Regions from separate parts of the Homo sapiens genome. Here region 1 is linked to region 2. The links are contacts of gene promoters, found by promoter capture Hi-C in blood cells and fetal thymus (Javierre and others, 2016). All regions are on one chromosome and are shown on one strand. The core of a region is centred on a gene start or on the middle of the fragment in contact, and the rest is flanking DNA. Distances in the headings are between cores, read along the strand shown. Region 1 overlaps GVQW3 (GVQW motif containing 3). Region 2 holds the start of INTS4 (integrator complex subunit 4).

The links. Contacts are between HindIII fragments. The CHiCAGO score rates a contact against its expected background, and 5 or more counts as called.
Region 1: a contact is called between a fragment that was not itself captured here and the fragment with the promoter of INTS4 in region 2, in 1 of 17 cell types (non-activated CD4 T cells). The highest score is 5.0, in non-activated CD4 T cells.

What each region holds. Positions count from the first base shown.
Region 1 is chr11:76,381,429-76,384,128 of GRCh38, forward strand. It overlaps GVQW3 (GVQW motif containing 3), which reads left to right. Exons shown (of 2, transcript NM_001347885.2): 1 at 1-865. The coding sequence starts at 401. Among named protein-coding and RNA genes, the nearest start is that of GVQW3, 1.5 kb to the left of the region's middle. The HindIII fragment of the contact is 1,517 bases long and covers 493-2,009 here.
Region 2 is chr11:77,993,255-77,996,092 of GRCh38, forward strand. INTS4 (integrator complex subunit 4) reads right to left here and starts at 1,414. Exons shown (of 23, transcript NM_033547.4): 1 at 1,336-1,414. The coding sequence starts at 1,389. RefSeq lists an enhancer at 1,329-1,528 and a silencer at 1,729-1,798. The HindIII fragment of the contact is 5,814 bases long and covers 1-2,838 here.

The sequences.
Region 1 (2,700 bases), core at 1-2,500, 1.6 Mb before region 2:
TCACCGATGCATCTCTTCTTGCTTGCTTAATTTGCCACCACTTAGGCCTTTCTTGCAGAATTCGCCATATACTCCTTAAGGGCCGCGGAATCGGAGCGACCTTGGTGACTGGCAAACTCTCGGCAGATGTGCGTGCACTGGTTTGATGCAGACGTGGTTGTAGGCGATTTAATTTTTCCCAGCTTTGCAGCGACTGTTGGCTTCCCAGAACGGATCTCCCCAGCCTCGACTGGAAGCTGAGGGACAAAAATTCATAAAAGCAATTACTCTTTCCCGGCGAGGCTTCTAGAAGAGCAAGAAGAGCGATATGATTACACCTGCAGCCCTATAAAGATTGATCTGTCCGTCTTTCCCTTACAGTCGTGGCCTGTTAAACGTTCCTGTGTTGTTCAGTGCCAGAATGAGTGACCGCTATTTAGAACAAAGGATTAGTATCAAATTTTGCGTGAAATTGAACAAGTCTGCAAGTGAGACCCACCATCTTTTAAAAGAAGCTTATGGGGATGAAGTCATGTCAAGGGCCAGAGTTTTTGACTGGCACAAAAGGTTTAAAGAAGGACGGGAAGATGTTCGAGATGATGCCCGAAGTGGGCGTCCAGTCACCCACCGAACAGATGACAATATCCAGAAGGTCAAGGACTTGGTTTGTTCAAACAGGCAGTTAACCGTGAGGATGATGGCTGAAGAGTTAAATTTAGACAAAGAAACTGTTAGGCTCATTTTGAAAGAAAACTTGAACATGAGGAAGATTTCTGCAAAAGTTATTTCGGGTGTTTTGAAGGGTGAGCCTAAACCACGAAAACTTGACTTTCGGTCCGATCTTTCAAAGGAAACTAGGAAAAATAGCTCATGTTTGAGGAAAAAGGTAACAGGTTCTGAAACATGGAGTTATCTCCAGGGTGAAGCTGGTGGGGAAATGCCCCTGCCGGTATCCCATCCCAGAGTCCACTACTCTGCCAGTCAGCTTCTGCAGGCGTCATCTTCAACAAGCCTTCCCCCCAGGGTAGCTGAGAATTGGTTCACCCCATGGTGAGAGGAATGTGAGTTAGCTGAACCAGAACTAGGATGCTGCCTCACTGTTAGGCACCTTCTTTGGCTGCTCACGTATTTTTCAGTCTTCACCACTCCTCCCTATGTGCCATGGCCCTCCTCATTACTCTTTGCTGGACTCTTGGACCATTTTCCTTGCTGTTCTCCATAACTTTGAAAAACTTTTGGCTGTTCCCTTCTGGTATTTGCTTGTTCTTGATTTCTTTTGCTCAACAAGTTTGGATTTCTTCTCTGCCCAGACCTTAGCTTGTTGTGGCTGTCCTGTTCCTTTGTTCTCAACCTTCTGCCTCAGAGGATCATGCCAGTGAGAAGAGAGGAACAGGATCTCCTGGAATCTGTATCTCTGTGCCCAGGGAAGCATGCTTTTCTGGGAGGACCCCAAAAGAAGGCTTACAGTTTCAGCCTGCTTTGCAGTCAGGGCCTGAGGTATGGTACAGAAGGTAGTAGCATGCTGGTATTACTGAACAGTGCTGGGCCTAGGGGCTGATCTGGCCCAGATGACTCAGTAGGCACCCTTAGGAATCAGGGGTTGGCCACCAATACTGATCTTCTCACAGGCCTACACCTCACAGAAGAGCTGGGTTTGTTTCATTCTAGTCCTATGCTTTGGACCTCCACTCATTTGGGTATCACCCCTGTTGGAAGAGGAGGATCTGGTGCTAGAAAATATAAACCCGGGGACCCAGGCAAGGCTGTGTTGTGTGGGGAGGAAGACCAGGTGGCTCTCTAGTCCCTGAATTAAGGGAGCCTGCTGCCTATGTGCGGATTCCCACACAGCAGCCTGTTTTTAGTAACTAATGCCTATAGTTTTGAGAACTTGCTGTTTTTAGGACACTGCTGGGCATTGACAATGTGGAGGTTATGAACAAGATCTCCAAGGGCTGATGGGCTTCATGGATGAGATGGTTCTTGAACTGGATCCATGAGGATGGGTGAGACAGGGCTGTGAAATTAGGGAAAGCTTCCGGGGCAGGTGGAACAGCATGAGGCTTCCAACCTGCATCAGTAGAAAATGACACTGGCCAGGTGTGGTGAATCACGCCTGTAATCCCAGCACTTTGGGAGACTGAGGTGGGTGGATCACAAGGTCAAGAGATCGAGACCATCCTGGCCAACATGGTGAAACCCCGTCTCTACTAAAAATACAAAAATTAGCTGGGCGTGGTGGTGCACACCTGTAGTCCCAACTACTCAGGAGGCTGAGGCAGGAGAATCTGTTGAACCCGGAAGGCAGAGGTTGCAGTGAGTGGAGATTGCGCCACTGTACTCCAACCTGGCGACAGAGCTAGACTCTGTCCCAAAAAAAAAAAAAAGGAATTAGAAAATGATGACACTATTGGCTAAAATAACAAAGTTTAAAGAGGAAGATAATGGTGTTGCAGCAGATGAACAATTTGGGATAATTTGCTTTCTCTCCTAAGCCTCCAACTCTATGCCACTTGTTGTTAAATTGCTTCCCCTGAGTCTGTGAATAGGTTTGTAACAACCAATTTGATATCTGATTTTCCATTTGGACCCCGACAAGCAGTTTCTGCAAGTTCAAACTCTGTCTCTTCTCTTCCTGCCTCTGCCAGGATTTATGGAATGGAACTTTTCCCAAGTGGGTTCCAAGTAATACCACATAGACTGGAAACATTCAGGGGGCAGGGG
Region 2 (2,838 bases), core at 164-2,663:
AAGTACAAATAGATTAGTACCACAGAATGCTACAGAAACAGGTGAAGAAGAGACTAAGCTCTCGCTGAGGTTTCATTTGGGTCTTGAAGCACAAATGTTAAGTCCACTGGGTGGAGAACAAAAAGAAAGGGAAGAATGGCATGTATTCTGTGAGAAGAGACAACCAGTGCAAGAGTTTTGAGATATGCAAACACAAGAACACATGGCATATCTGGTCATGTGAGGATGGGTGGAAGAGGGCTGAGCAGTCTTGGGAAATGGGAACAACAGAATGTTGGGAAGAGAGGAAATCACATTGTGCAACAGTGCTAATGTTCTTAATGCCACTGAACTTTATACTTAAAATTGTTAAAATTGTAAATTTTATATTATGTATTGACATATTTTGTATTTGTATTAACATATTTTAATGCTGGATGAATGAATCCATGTAATGTTTAAGGATCAGTATCCTGCTGGATGCTCTAAGCCTTGCCACTCTACAAGTCTAAGGATCTAAGAATGCAACCAATGCACTGGTGTAAATTTGGGGGCATGTCAGGAATGCAGAATCTTGCCTCACCTCCTCTGCTTGACTTATCAAATAGAATCGACATTTGAACAACGTCCCCAGGTAATTTGTATACACATTAATATCTGAGAAATAGGACATCAGGATGATTTAGGATCAACCCTAGCAACATCTACGTGGAGACACATGGAGCATCACTGACTCCCGACAGGGACTCTGCCCACCTGTCACAACTTCATGGTGAGGAAGGTACTGCCCTCCTTCCTAGGTGAGCTGTTCTACCAATAGAGAGCTCTTCCCCTATGAAGTCTGTGACCCCCGCCTGCTTAGACTGCGCCTGAAGGAATTCTATAGACCCTTCTTTCAGCCCCTTAGAACCTTGTGTATATTCCAACTGGTCCCTGGGAGGTTTTTTTTTGGAACGGGGGTGCGGGGAGGCTAGAAGGGGCTCTGCTGCTAACTGGCTGTATCCTCGTACCCCTCCGGAAGGCTCAATGTCCACATCTGGAAAACGAGGATGCTAATGTAACGCGATGGAGCAAAGTTGTGTGAGAGAATAAAATGAAATAACGGATAAGACAGTTTCGTAAATTAAAAAACACTGTTTCTCCTAATAATTTTTTTAAAATCCTGTCAGACTTCACATATTAATGACAACAGCGGCTGCAAACTAACACGCCCACTAACTTGCAATATCAGAGATTATCAACAAGTCAGCACTTAACACGGGCGTATGGAGCCTCTTCTGTTCCGGCAAAGTGCCTGGGATTTGGATAATCTACCCTGGTCCGGATCGGTTCTGGATCTTTCCCGCCAGAGCTTACCTGAACCACTTTCGTGAATTCCTCATAAACCCGCTTCTTAAGGTGCGCCGCCATGCCTACCCGCGGGCCCTCTCAGCTTCCGTACACTAGGAGGGAGGCGGGGGTGGACGGATCCGGAAAACTTGCGTAGGCGCGGGGGGTGGGTGGATGACTTGCCGAGATCCCACAAGGCAGTGGGATTTGGGGAAAGAGCGACCGCTTCCTGTTGCTCGACTGCCTCGCCACTGTACGGACTGATTTGGCGGCCTACGCCGGAAGAACGGAAATAAGAGCTTCGCTTGTGGGAGGCGGGGCCTCTGGCGGGAGGAGCTGAGACTGAAAGGGTGGGCAACCCAATGGGAGCTTTGGGAGGCTGGTTGGTGGCCTCGGAGTGGCTAAGAGACTAGCGCGGCGCGGCGCGAAGGGAGGGAGGGAGGAAGTACAGGTTAAAGGGCAGAGGCGGGGTGCTCCAGAGCTAGAGGCAAAACCCGGAGCTCTGTAAGGGGTTTACGACTCGTGAAAAAACTCAGAGGCTCGGCTGACTTTCCCATCATCCTTTGCTGTACACGATGCTGTTTGTAGGTTTCCTGAGCACTGCCTTTGTTCAAGCTGTGCGCCACCTCTCTTGTTTTGGGGTGCCTTTCCATACTTCCTTATTCCAGTTTTGCAAAAGCTGCCATCCTTTAAGGCATCAATCCCTGCTCTGATAGCTATAGTACAGTAGAAGACTTCTGAGACCAAGGATAAAGCAACAAAGCTACAGACTACAGCTCTGGTTCTTGAGCAAATGGCTCAACTACAAATGCATTTATAATAACTAACCTGACAAAGATGTGACAATGGAGTGAAATAATGCAGGAACATTTTACGGACTGTAAGGTGTAGTGCACATGTTAGTGTCAGTAAATCCAAGGTCAAGTTTTACAACCTACATGAAACTAGCTGTTCATTATTTTGGTCTTTCAAAAGAATGTGGGCCAGGCGCGGTGGCTCATGCCTGTAATCCCAATACTTTGGCAGGCCGAGGCGGATGGATCACTTGAGGTCAGGAGTTCGAGACCAGCCTGGCCAACATGGGGAAACCCCGTCTCTACTAAAAATACAAAAATTAGTCGGGGCATGGTGGCACACGCCTGTAATCCCAGTTTCTTGGGAGGTTGAGGCAGAAGAATCACTTGAACATGGGAAGCGGAGGTTGCAGTGAGCCGAGATCGCGCCACTGCACTCCAGCCTGGGCGACTGAGCGAGACTCCGTTATCAAAAAAAAAAAAAAAGAATTAATGTGGGATAGTTTAAAAAAAAAAAAGCAGGAGGCTGAGGTGGATACAGAGGACCCAAAAATAAACAAAAGATAGTATTTATCCTCAAGGTCCTACAATCTGAGAAGACAGACACCCAAACTGATGGTGACAGTGCAACTGAAATGTGCTGGGTAACGGGAATGAATGTGGTTCAAACAGACCTAATTTCTTCAGAGTGCCTCAGGGAAGGCTTTCCTAAAATTAGAGGAAACTGGGAGTGGTG